2 separate regions of the Homo sapiens genome follow, and region 2 is linked to region 1. The links are contacts of gene promoters, found by promoter capture Hi-C in blood cells and fetal thymus (Javierre and others, 2016). All regions are on one chromosome and are shown on one strand. The core of a region is centred on a gene start or on the middle of the fragment in contact, and the rest is flanking DNA. Distances in the headings are between cores, read along the strand shown. Region 1 holds the start of HNRNPK (heterogeneous nuclear ribonucleoprotein K). Region 2 holds the start of LOC105376136 (a long non-coding RNA gene).

The links. The method cuts DNA at HindIII sites, captures the fragments that hold promoters and counts their contacts. A CHiCAGO score of 5 or more calls a contact.
Region 2: a fragment that was not itself captured here is called in contact with the fragment with the promoter of HNRNPK in region 1 in 3 of 17 cell types (total CD4 T cells, naive CD8 T cells and activated CD4 T cells); the score reaches 13.2 in total CD4 T cells.

Annotation. Positions count from the first base shown.
Region 1 is chr9:83,977,939-83,984,896 of GRCh38, forward strand. HNRNPK (heterogeneous nuclear ribonucleoprotein K) reads right to left here and starts at 2,277. Exons shown (of 17, transcript NM_031263.4): 1 at 2,215-2,277; 2 at 435-514; 3 at 257-341. The coding sequence starts at 314. RMI1 (RecQ mediated genome instability 1) reads left to right here and starts at 2,867. Exons shown (of 3, transcript NM_001358291.2): 1 at 2,867-2,953. RefSeq lists enhancers at 1,551-1,710, 2,531-2,580, 2,540-3,047, 2,621-2,680, 2,811-2,880 and 2 more and silencers at 2,251-2,390, 3,201-3,280. The HindIII fragment of the contact is 2,357 bases long and covers 1,224-3,580 here.
Region 2 is chr9:89,307,258-89,313,578 of GRCh38, forward strand. It overlaps LOC105376136 (a long non-coding RNA gene), which reads right to left and starts at 3,545. Exons shown (of 3, transcript XR_930101.4): 1 at 2,109-3,545; 2 at 1,601-1,689. It overlaps CKS2 (CDC28 protein kinase regulatory subunit 2), which reads left to right and starts at 3,938. Exons shown (of 3, transcript NM_001827.3): 1 at 3,938-4,094. The coding sequence starts at 4,036. It overlaps MIR3153 (microRNA 3153), which reads left to right and starts at 4,968; the gene lies at 4,968-5,049. RefSeq lists a silencer at 3,244-3,473 and enhancers at 3,484-3,773, 4,444-4,493. The HindIII fragment of the contact is 2,628 bases long and covers 360-2,987 here.

The DNA of each region.
Region 1 (6,958 bases), core at 1,027-3,526:
ATGCACCAAACACAAAATACTGCCACAAAATACTTCAAAGGATTTGAAATCCCAAAATGCAAGAAAAATTCTTTATATGCAAATCAGTTACTTCTACTTCATAAATAAAAGCTAAGATGTAACTACTGATAATCGCAGAATTACATAAACAGTAATACCAAAAATTCACCACACACTCCTAAGGCAATAATTAACAGAAAAAGGCAATTTATTAACAGGATAAAAAAATACTGTTAAAACTAAAATTTCTTCTCACCAAATTCACCATTGGTTTCAGTGTTAGGGAAGGTTTCTTCTGGCTGTTCAGTTTCCATATTCTTTTATTAAACGGGCACACCAATCTGTGGAAAAATAAAGCAGCTAGTACATTTGGCTTATTGGAAAGCAAGCTGTAAAAAAAAAAAAAAAAAAAAGACATTGCTTCTAGAACGTACCAGTTATTATATATCCTTGCAGAGCAGAACTGAAGCGTTCTGGGTCGGACCAACAACTGACACCCCAGTGCTGCAGTAGCCTATAAGAACCAACACAAATCAGTTTTGCTTTTGTTTATTCTTATTACTGAATATTTGTTTCCGATCACAGTGAATACTGATTTGAACCCAAAAAACCAGCTGTTTCTAAAACTTGATTCTTCATTTTAGGGTTTCACAATTCAAATGACTGCCTAAAAAATACAAAATTCAAGGGAGCCTGGTTTCATTTTTTGCTAAGTTAGAACAATAACTTTTAGCCACTGGATTAAGTCCCACCACAGCAATGAATTGTTTTATACGGCACATTCCCAAAACCCTGAAAAGATAAATGTCATCCACAAAGCATACATTTATGAAAAGTTACAATGCATCTTATTCACTGGGAAAACTAATTTTATATTAAAACTTCCAATTGCTTTCCTATTTCTTTCGACTCATGCTTGAAGCGATCTTATGTGACATCTCTAAAGTTTACAAATACAACGGCAATTGCGAACACATCCAACAACCAGAACAATCTACCGGAGGGATAAATCCAAAAATCTAATATAGGACCAGACCCAAACTACCACAATACCAGTCTATTATTAATCAGCGAAACAAATGGAGCCCTTGAAAACTAACAGTCACTAGCGGATTATTTTAAATTAGGCTTAAGGGAGTACAACACAACAATCATGCCTGTAACACGAAAACTAAAGTGTCTACGTGCCAAAACGGTCGATAGGACTACAAACAGCCTTTTTAAGCTTCCCTCTTGTCGGGACTAGGAGTTGACAAGCGGCCTCTACTAGAAGGTTGGCTAGACAGCAAAGAGCCAACAAGCGAGGCACATTTATGCCTCCCATTCTCCCATACCGTTGGTCGACTTATTGCTCTCCTAACGACAACTGAAACGACATCCTTCCGGCCCAGCACGCAATTTCTGAGGTGTGGTGGGAGAAGAGTTGGATAAGAAAGTTTAAGCAAAAACAGCAGGGCTTATCTGTAAGAATAACGTTGCCGCTTGCCGTTCACCCTTCGGGTCCTGCAGTCACTAGTCCCCAGGCCTCAAAAATCCGCTAAGTATGTGCTCCACTGGCCGAGCGCCAACGCGCCCTCCCCTCCCCGCCTCCCGGCACCGAGATCAAAAACAGCCGGGTAACAGGACGGGAAAAAGCGAAAGTCGACAGCAGAAGCACCGCACCTCTCCTCACCCGGATCCGACAGGAAATGGCGGCCCGCGTAATGGCGACTACGTGCTACTAGGCGGAGCCGAGCGCCGACCCCCTCCCCCACCCACCACGCGGTCCCGAGGTCTCATCCCCCGCATCCTCCCCCCACTGCCCGAGACAAAGCCATCGAGGCAGCCCTGACCGTTCCATCCCCGCCGCTCCAGCTCCGACCCCGGGCCGGGAGACCCAAGGTGAGGCGGGGCTCACACAAAGAGAGCGGCGGCGCGACCTTCTCCCCGCACCGGCCTCCTTTCCTCCACGAGGTCCCTAGTTCCCAGTGCCACATAGCTCCAGCTCATCCTAGAGGCACATGCCTCACGAATCCCCAAGTCTCTAGGACCACAACGCGGACTGCGGATACACGCTCAGGGAAATGGCGGAGGTGGGGGAGGGGACACCGGGCAACGTTCCCACTCGGAGAAGCGGCCAAACACCAAAGCGGCTCCCAGGACGCCTCCCTCAAGCGGAAAAACTGGGCTCCGACCCTCACCTCCACGAGCCGCTCCCCCAACCCGGCTCCTCACCGCGCGAGACTGCCGTCCCTCCGCTGCCGCGCCGCCTCAGCCGGTCGGAGCTAGACAGAAAACGAGCGCAGGCTCCCCTCCCCCGCCTTCTCGCGTCCTCCCCGCCGTCGCGCCCTATTGGCTGCCAGGGCTTCAGCGATGGTGCGAGGGCGAAGCGATTGGCCCGAGGCCACGTCAATCAAGGCGACGGAGGAGGCGACAACCCCGCCTCCCGCCAGCGCCTCCCTTCGGGCTGGGAGGCCACTAAGGGCTCGAGAAAACCCGGGCTTGGGAAAAGTAAACGCAGCCTTTCAGGGAGCCCCAACCCTTACCCGAATCAGCAATACCCAAGCTCCAATAACTCCAATTACCTATAGGCCGCGAACAAGTGGGACACAGGCAAGACGTCGAGGTCGGTGCAGCAGAGAAACAGAGGATAATGGCGTCTGCAGTGCTGTCGCCTGGAGCGCCCTCCTCCTTTCTCGTTCGCGCACTCACTAGCTGGGGGGAGGGGCGGCTAGGGGGCGAACCTCTCGCGAGATCTAACAACTGCCTAGTTCACGCGCACAGGGAGGGGGCGGGGAAGGGGCGTTTTCCAGCCCCGAAGGAGTCCTTTGGGGTTGGAGGAGGGGCGCGAGCGCGCGGCAAATCGGGCGGGAAGAGGTAAAAAAGGAACTGGGAGCGCGCCGCGGCGGTTCCTGTCCTTACAGTTGCGCTGCCCAGGGACCGATGTTGCGCGAGGAAAATGCGGGACGCCCAGGTCGGTGCTCGGCCCAGACTTATGCCCGTGTTTTCACAGCCCACACTCGTGCCCGAAGCCCCTTACCCCGCCCCGGGCTGTGGTCTGTGGGCTGTGGGACGAGCTGCGGCGCGGTAAGTGCGGGCCGTCTGCGTCCGCTGGGCCGGGCCCACGCTTCGGAAACCCGTTGTTTGTAATGGTCCGGGGCGCCCGTCAGTCAAGGCCGGGCCCGGGGGCGCAGCTGGCGGTTCTCGGCCTGCCTTGCGCCGGGGCGGGAGCCGGGGAAACGCGGGGCGAGCCTGGGAGTACTGGAGAACTTCTCGCCGAGAGGGCACAGGCGGTTTCACAGGGCTCTCGGTTCTGAGACTTTCCTCTTGGGTAATGGGACCTGAGATGGAAGTATTTTGTAGTGTCGTCGCTGTAGTTTATTCCGATAAAATTTTTAGGCAATATGTATTGCCCTTGTCTCCTAAAATGAATGCGTATCGCTGAATACGTTGCAGACCTCCACGTTCCATTCAAAGCGCCTGCCTTGTGGCAGTGATGAAAACAGACAAAAACCCTTGCCCTCAAACGTGCTCCTGTTCTAGCGGGTTCAGCGCACACTTGCATTGTATTCGGTTCCTTACTTTTAAGGCTCCTGTGCCAAGCTTTCATGACTTCCTTTGTTAAGGCACATAAGGTCACTTTCAATCGGTGACAGCCCTGGGAAATCTCCAGCCCTGGTAGTACCCGCTTTCCACATCCTTACTCGTCAACCTTCCAGCCTCCGCCCACAATCCCAAACTCATTTTGAAGCATAAAGGTGTCATAATCTGCACATAAAGCGAAATCCACCATTGGCCGAATACATGCATATATTTTAGTGTTGATGAATTTGTGCTGATTCATTCCTGTTATAATGTTTCCTTCTTGGGTAATTTGCAAAACATATATACCAGCATTCTTTTAAATGGCCATGATTGCATCCACCCAGCATCTTTTACTTGACTGATTAGAGGAAAACTCTTGTTAGGGCGCACTGAGGATTTCATGACAAACACCAGTATTTACATTCTGGGAGGATACGTTAACACATGCTGTTAGAACATAATGTCCGGGATTGTGGAATTTATAAAAGTTCTCTTTAAGTGATAATATAATTTTTTAAATGGTCCCCACCATGAAGAGTGTATAGTCTTGTTGGGTAGGTAAAACTTAACTCGCATTTCAGTTCTAAAACACAAAGTTCAGAATTTTATTAAATATTCAAAACTGATGAGTTTATGTAGGGGCTTAGGATACTTGGATTATAGAGATTTAATCCGCCAGTTAGTATTTGCAACATTTAATTGAGTTTGTCATTTAAAACCTGAGACATGTCACTGACACTAATATGCACAAATAGCGGTACGGTAATGATGATGCTGTGCTTTCTTTCAAATTAGGATTTATGTTGCAGTCATCATTTTCTTGATAAGGAATGATGAGTGGGAATCACAAGTAAGCAGCCCTATATAAGAACCTCTTCCGGCCGGGCACGGTGGCTCACGCCTGTAATCCCAGCACTTTGGGAGGCCGAGGCGGGCGGACCACAAGGTCAGGAGATCGAGACCATCCTGGCTAACATTGTGAAACCCCGTCTCTACTAAAAAGACAAAAAAAAAAATTAGCCGGGTGTGGTTGCAGGAGCCTGTAGTCCCAGCTACTCAGGAGGCCGAGGCAGGAGAATGGCGTGAACCCGGAAGGCTGATCTTGCAGTGAGCCGAGATCGCGCCACTGCACTCCAGCCTGGGCGACAGAGCGAGACCCTGTCTCAAAAACAAAAACAAAAACAAAAAAAAAAACCTCTTCCTCCCAGTTTCATTGTCCAGACTGGACCCCGACTGGTGTAAATTATTCATCCCCTCTAGATGCCATTGTGGGATGGTTGCTATTTTTCCCCCCATTTGATTTCTTCTTTACGTCTTTTTAATTTTTAGGTTTGCTCTTTAAATAACAGGAAAGTCTTTTTTCTCCATCCTTTTATTCTCTGTTTGAAATTAAGACTTTTCAACCCAATAATTTTATACCTGTGTTCATTCAAGAACTTAACAATACATTCATTGACTCCAGTCTTGTGTAATTGGTACAATGGTGTAATGGTGTAGTGATCACTTTGGACTCAGTGAATTTAGACCCAATATTACTTAGATGGGGGATTTACTTTAGATGGGCTAATATAATTGAGAATGTACACTATCCAGCTGCATTATTGTTTAAAATAGTATTTATAACTACTATTTCCTGAGTTCCCCACTGTGTGCTAAACGTTGTGCTGGCAGTTTAATACTTTTTAGAGTTCTTTGAGCAAGTTGTTAGTTATCTTTGTTTTGTGAACGAATGAACTAGCACTAAGAGAAGCTAAGGAACATATCCAAGGTCACATAGCAAAATGGGGTTCCAGATTCTCTTTCTGTCTTTTCCTTACTTTAGGTTATGGAGGATCCATAAAAATCTCCTCTGATTACTTCTTCTAATTTCAGTCATATACGGTATAAATTTTTCCTCCCTAATTTTCGGAGTATCTTCTCAAAAATTCCAGGATTACCTTGAACTCATCCTCAATGAATTAAAATGTAGACTTACCTTTATTGTTTAGATGAAGATAATGGAACTGTGGAGTAGATTTAAATATTCGTTAGTGCTTTTAAGTCTCAGCTATTGTCAGAATGACACACGTAAGGTCCAAAAGGATGACACTCCTGCCTCGCTTTTTATTAAAAAAAAATTGGAATATATGAGGCTGACTGAAAATTAATCTGTAAATCAAATATGCCTAGACCTTCGTGGTAGGTGATAAAATTTTCCCACTTTATTTTCTTTTGTTCAGTTCCTGGCAGTACAGATCTAGAATGCAGATTAGTGTGGTCAGCCAAGTTTATCATTCATACAATGCTAATCAGCTTTCTTAAAAATGTTTTTTCCTGATTATAAAATTAATGGGGATTAAGCTGTATGTAATTTTATATGTGTTCTTTTTCCCAACAAAATGTGAATGTATTTCTTTGTCATTAAATAATTCTTAAAAATGGTTTCTTTAAAGATTTCATAGCTTTTCATTTCATGGTGGTAGTGCTATGTATTTAACTTTTTTTCCCATTTTGAACATTTTGTTTTTTTCAAAATATAAAAACTCAGTGGTAAACTCTCTGCCACATAAATCTTTGTCTTTATTTATTTTGTTACTTATTGATGCATAAAAGATGTACATAGTTTTGGGGTATATGTGATAATTTAATATATTCACTTAATTTGTAAAGATCAAATCACAGTACCGGGGATATTATCTCCTTAAATATATGGCTTTTCTTTGTCCTTATTTATGATTATGTCCTTAATTCTGGAAAGTAAAAGAAGTGGATAATATGGTATGAACATACCTTTTTTTTTTTTTTGAGACTGAGTTTCGTTCTTGTTGCCTATGCTGGAGTGCAGTGGCGCAATCTCGGCTCACTGCAACCTCTGCTTCCTGGGTTCAAACGATTCTCCTGCCTCAGCCTCCCGAGTAGCTGGGATTACAGGCATGTGCTACCAAGCTCGGCTAATTTTTTTGTATTTTTAGTAGAGATGGGGTTTCTCCATGTTGGTCAGGCTGGTCTGGATCTCCTGACCTCAGGTGATCCACCCGCCTTGGCCTACCAAAGTGCTGGGATTACCAGTTTTGAACATCTTTTTTTCTTTTCTTTTGAGACAAAGTTTCGTTCTTGTTGCCCAGGCTGTAGTGCAATGGCACAATCTCGGCTCACTGCAACCTCTGCCTCCTTGGTTCAAACGATTCTTCTGTCTCAGCCTCCCTAGTAGCTGGGATTACAGGCATGCGCCACCAGGCTCAGCTAATTTTTTTGTATTTTTAGTAGAGACGGGCTTCTCCATGTTGGTCAGGCTGGTCTTGAACTCCTGACCTCAGGTGATCCACCTGCCTCAGCCTCCCAAAGTGCTGGAATTACAGCTGTGAGCCACCGCACCCAGCCCGAACATATCTTACTGTATAATTTAAAAGACAGT
Region 2 (6,321 bases), core at 424-2,923, 5.3 Mb after region 1:
GTGCGGGGGCTCACGCCTGTAATCCCAGCACTTCGGGAGGCTGAGGCAGCCGGATCATCTGAGGCCGTGAGTTCAAGACCAGCCTGACCAATATGGAGAAACCCCATCTCTACTAAAAATACAAAATTAGCTGGGCATGGTGGAGGGCACCTGTAATCCCAGCTACTTGGGAAGCTAAGGCAGGAGAATTGCTTGAACACAGGAGGCAGAGGCTGCAGTGGGCAGATATCGCGCCATTGCACTCCAGCCTGGGCAACAAGAGTGAAACTCCATCTCAAAAAAAAAAAAAAAAAGAGAGACAATAACAAAATGCAAGATGTAGGCCCAAGTTTGAAAGCAGGGTTAAACAAACTATAAAAAGCTTTGGTGAGGCAGTCAGGGAAATGTGAGTCTAAAACAGCTATCAAAGAGTATTAAGGACGTCTAAGCGTAAGTATGATGTGGTTATGCATTTTTTAAAAAATTTTCCTGAGATGCACACCATAAACACAGAGATACACTGAAAAGTTTTATTTAGGAGTGAACTGACATATCTGAGATCTCTTCAGTAATATTCTAGAAAAAAAAAGTTAGAGAGGAACAGATGAAACATGATTGGCAAACGGTAATTGCTGAAGCTAAATGACTGGAACAAGTTGAGTATCCCTTACCCAAAACACTTGGGACCAGAAGTGTTTCAGGGTTTTTTGGAATCTGGAATATGGGCATTTTGTTAACCAGTTCAGTATCTCTAATAGGAAAATCTGAAATCTGAAGTGCTCCAATGAGCATATCCTTTGAGCTCATGTCAGTGTTGTTCAACGTTTTGGACTTTTGGAGCATTTCAGATTTTCAGATTAAAGATGCACAACCTGTACATGGGAGTTGATTCTATTATTCCATGTGTTTGAACTTTTCACAGTGCAGATGGTCCTTGACTTACAATGGTTCAACTTAAAATTTTTTTGACTAGTCAGGATGTAATCCCATTGTAAATTAAGGAGCATCTATACATTTATTTAAAAATATATCTCCCAGGAAGTTTTTTTCCCCCAGGTTCTGCCAGAAAGTAATTTCCTTGTCCATTTTCCTTAACAGTTTATTCACATTTTTGCCATCATAGTAATTATACCTAATTATTTACTCTTATTATACTGTGCCTAAAATTTACTTCTTATTGTGTGCTTATGTGCAAGGAACTCTGCTATGTGCTAGGCACTCCGTGGTGAACAAGACAGACATGGCCTCTACACTAGCTTCACAGAGTTGTTTTTTTTTTTTTTGAGACGGAGTCTCGCTCTGTCGCCCAGGCTGGAGTGCAGTGGCACAGTCTTGGCTCACTAACAGAGAGTATTTTATAGCGCAGATAGGGAGACAACCACCACCTAAGCAAACATGCAATTGCGACAGTGGGAGGGAAGCCCACTGGAGTCGGTGGCAAGGGCATAATGGGGAAATTGAAGAACTTTCTGTAGAGAAGTTGATTAAGGAAGGCCTTTCAGAAGATGAAATGCTTAATCTGAGACCTGAAGGATTCTATCATGTATGAACGAATGTTTGTGTCTGCTCCCAGCCACCAAATCATGCGTGGAAATTCCAGGCCGGGTGTTGTGGCTCATACCTGTAATTCTGTTACAGGAAAGGGGTCCAGTCCAGATCCCAAGGGAGAATTCTTGGATCTCGTGCAAGAAAGAATTCAGGGTGAGTCCACTGTGCAAAATGAAAGTAAGTTTATTAAGAAAGTAAAGGAATAAAAGGATGGCTACTCCATAGACAGAACAGCCGAGGGCTGCTGGTTGCCCATTTTTATAGTTATTTTTTGCTTATATGCTAAACGAGGGGTGTATTATTCATGCCTCCCCTTTTTAGACCATGTAGGGTAACTTCCTGATGTTGCCATGGCATTTCTAAACTGTCATGGCACTGGTGGGAGTGTAACAGTGAGGACCAAAGTCACTCTCTTCGCCATTTTGGTTTTGGTGGGTTTTGGCTGGCTCCTTTGCTGCAACCTGTTTCATCAACAAGGTCTTTATGACCTGTATTTTGTGCTGACCTCCCATTTCATCCTGTGACTTAGAATGCCTTAACTGTCTGGGAATGCAGCCCAGTAGGTTTTAGGCTCATCTTACCCAGCTCCTGTTTAAGATGAAGGTGCTCTGGTTCACTTGCCTCTGACGATCCCAGCACTTTGCGAGGCCAAGGCGGGCAGTTCACTTGAGGTCAGGAGTTCGAGACCAGCCTGGCCAAAATGATGAAAACCCGTTTCTACTAAAAATACAAAAACTAGCTGGGCCTGTAATCCCAGCTGCTCTGGAGGCTGAGGCAGAATGGCTTGAACCTGGGAGGGGGAGGTCGCAGTGAGCCAAGATCACACCACTGCACTCCAGCCTGAGCAGCAGAGTGAGACTGTCTCCAAAAAAAAAAAAGGGCGGGGGGTGGAATTCCAAACACCCTCTTCCCCCAAGAAGTGATTGTATTAGGAAGTTAGGAGGTGGGGCCTTCGGGAGGTAATCAAGATTAGATGGTCATGAGGGTGGGGCCCTCACCCATGGAGATTATAAATGTCCTTAGCCGGCCTGTCTCACTTGTTCAGAAACCGGAAAAGTCCGTGGTCTGCAGTGTGGAAAAGGGCACCCGGACCTCTTACTTCCAGCCTCTAGTCTGGAAACTTTGTCTAAGGTACCCCATCTACATTACTTAGTCACAGCCACCCTGAACCCACTAGCCTGTACTGCGCTGGAGCATTTCGCATAAAATGAAATTAACATAAAAATGACACGTGCTCGTTGTGGAAAAAATACCAAAAAGATCACTTTTAATTCTGTCATCTAAAAATAACCACCAGTTACATTTATAAATTTCTTCCAGTAACTTTTTTATATGAACATGTTTTTAAACTTGGGTCAATATTAAAAGACCAGAAGTTGTTAAACATCATTTTAAATCCCCTTATCCAGGAATTAGCATTGTTATTCTTGGCCGCAGCAGAATATTATTTTATTCCCTCAAGCTTTCCATGGCTTGGGTCTGCCCTGGTTTTGAACATTAGGTTAGGCTACAGAAAGCATTCTGGGTCTCTGGCCCATTTGTTTCTTTCTTTGTGGAGACGGGGTCTGGCTCTGTTGCTCAGGCCTGTCTGGAACTCCTGGGCTCAAGCGACACTCCACCTCGGCCTCCCGAGTGGCTGGGACCACTGGCGCCCGCCGCCACCGCGCCGGCTCCGGGCCTCTCTCTACGCGTGGCTCCGCAGGCTCCATTCTCCACACAGTCGTCTAGGGGGGCGCCAGGAGCCCCGCGACGGGCCAGGCCGGAAGCTCAGCAAGTGCACCAGGCGGCGAAACGGCCGGCTGCGCAGGGCAGCCCCGGACACAGCCACGCCGCGGCCGCCCGGCGCTCCCCCGACCCAGCCGACCACGAAGCCGCCCTCCCCCTCACACCGCAGAACCTTTCTGCCTTTTACTACTTTTCAAAGTGGACCTAGGCTCCTGGCTCGAGCCTGAGGGGATACAAGGGATCACGAGGAGCGCCATCACCGTGCAAGGTCGACAGCTTCCGCTCAAAGCCCTGTGGCCCACGCTTCCGGCCTCGACCGACTACGTCATCACCAAACCCCGTGATACCTCACTCCACCTTCAGGTCCTCCGTCCCAACGGTTCCGTGTCCTGGAACTTTCCACGTTCCTGCGCACGCGCTCTGCGGCCCTTAACGTCCCGACTTCGCCCTCCTCTGGCCACGCCCCTGCCCGTTAAGGGCCCTGCCACCCCCGTGACGTACCTATCTTCCCTCGGGCAACCTCGCAACAGATCTCTGATTGGCTGACCCAGGAAGCGGACTTTGCGAGGCGGCGGCGACGATAGGCTGGCAGCCGGCCGACTTCCGCAGAAGGTGATTGGTCGGCGCTGCTGTCCAATCGGCGGCGGGCTGTCGGATTCAAATCCGGATCGTTGGGACTGCGGTCGTTAGTCTCCGGCGAGTTGTTGCCTGGGCTGGACGTGGTTTTGTCTGCTGCGCCCGCTCTTCGCGCTCTCGTTTCATTTTCTGCAGCGCGCCAGCAGGATGGCCCACAAGCAGATCTACTACTCGGACAAGTACTTCGACGAACACTACGAGTACCGGTGGGCGCCTTTCTTAGACCCCGAGCCGGCTCCCTCAGCCGGGGCCCCCGCGGGCGGGGCGACCCAGGCATAGTAGGGTCGGGGGTGGGGGCCGGGGCCTGGGGGGCGGAGCCCGGGGCCGGAGGGCGAGGGCCGGGGTTTGGGGTCGCGGCCACCTGGCGCCCCGCGCAGTCGGACATGGTTGGGTGCCTGGCCGCGCCGGGCCGGTTGGGCCTTTGTTCGGTGTGCGCGGAGGGTGAGGGAAGAGTGCCCACCGGGCCGCATTTAGTACCTGGGTAGGAACCGGCGCAACTTGGGGGTCATGGGGTCCTCGGCGACGCGGAGTGACCATCCCGTCACTTTTTTCTCGGCCGTGGCCGAAGTAATTAGGCCGTTCAGTAGCTGGTCTCAGTTCCAGTTCTTTGAACCAGTCCAGGAAAACCCACCTGGTGCCGTCCTTTTTCCTTTAGCAACCGTGACACACTTTCCCTGTCGCTGACGGGGTGATGCAGCTTTTACTAGTTTGTGGTTTAGAATGGTCAAATGGTCATTTTCATCTGTTAACACAGAGGAACACTTTTCTTTTTCTTGTTTTTGAAGTGAGTGGTATAAGAATAAGCTTTGGAGGCGACCCCCCGAAAAATGAGCTTGATGGGGATTCGAAAATGTTTACTGGGTATGGTGATTTGGGCCATTATAGGTTAGCCGCAGTCATACAATTGAGGGTATTATTAAAGGAGTTTCATTTTAAGGCCGATTAAGAACTTGAGTGGACTTTGGGCATCATTTTCTGCTAGTATACACTGGCCAAATTTTGGGCTTTGAGAAACTTTTGCGTTTGAGTCCTGAAGCACCGTACTAGAACATGGTGGCTGTAATCGATCAGTAAAATTAGACAAATTTTAAATGTCCCTGTCCCCTTCCCCCCAATTAAAGTAGATTGGGGGAAAGCGAGTAGGGACATTTAAAATTTGTTGTCCTTACTGTATGCGGGACACTTCATTTAGGGCGTGGCTTCAGAAAACAGTCAACCCCTTTTTCTTAACTAGGTAGCGACTAGAACGCTGCGTTCTGGGATACTACCAAGATTTAGGGGAGATAAAGCCCATGCCATCGTTGGCCAAATTGTGACCTTGTTTTCTGTCTGCTGCCTTTGTAGGTTAGATTTCTCCGAATGCTATTTAAGGAAGAAAGAACAAAACAGTGGGTGGTTTCTCTTTTTCTCCCCCTCCCTAGTAGCATGGAAGTCTGTTTTCACATGAGGACTACTGAATATTTCTATGGGTAGTAGTAATTGCACCCTTTTGTATTCCTAGCTAGAAAAATAGCATGTTTTTCTGGCTGTAGGTAAATTTCAAGTAGATTGTGTTAACCTTATAGTAATAATAAACTATACTCGTGTAATATGCTGGCAGTGTTCAATTATGCGATGTTAATCAAGAGCCCTATTGAGGATATCCAATAATGAACACAATGTAAACCGTAATAATCTTACTAAAACCTAGAAAATTATTCTGAAACACATCTGGTGCCAAGTGTTTAGGATAAGGATTTAAGGGTCGGTACAAGTTTCTTTTAGGGTATAATATTGAAAATAAATGAAGCTATTTCTCAGACTTCTTTCTGATGGCAGTAGGTCGATTTTTTAGTTTTAATATACTCAAATGATTTGTGTGTGGTAATGTATAGAAGAAAGTTTACATATCTGAAGTGATGTATTTTAATCCAATAAAAATTAGAGCTGGTATTAATTGGCCAAGCCAGTAACCTTTATGAAACAGGATAGTAATTTCCACACATAATTTTAAAGGGGAAACTAGTAATAATATAGCACTAAGGCATGAGTCTAGGGTGGTTTGTATTAATATGTAATGGTGCAGCATGCAATGTAAATTTCAAAGGCTAGTATTTATTTTTCCCAGTGTGCAGTTATCTCTATCTTTCTTTGATTTTTCTTAATTACAAACTTAATTTCCTAGTCCTTTTACGTGAGGGTCTTAATGTTTCTAAGGGCATAACAGTGGGTGCCCCCACCCCCACATCATGGAAGTCTGTTTTCACAAGAGAAAAACTGTTAATTTTTCTGGGCAGCCTTACAAATTAGTAATACTTGCACTATTTTGCATTTCAACTGAAATAAACGTTAGATTTTGGAAATAATTTTCCTTACATGTAGTTAGTTTGAAATCTCTGTGTGGCAAAATACAGGTAGAATCCTCATATGGGGTTGATGCTACTTAAACATTTT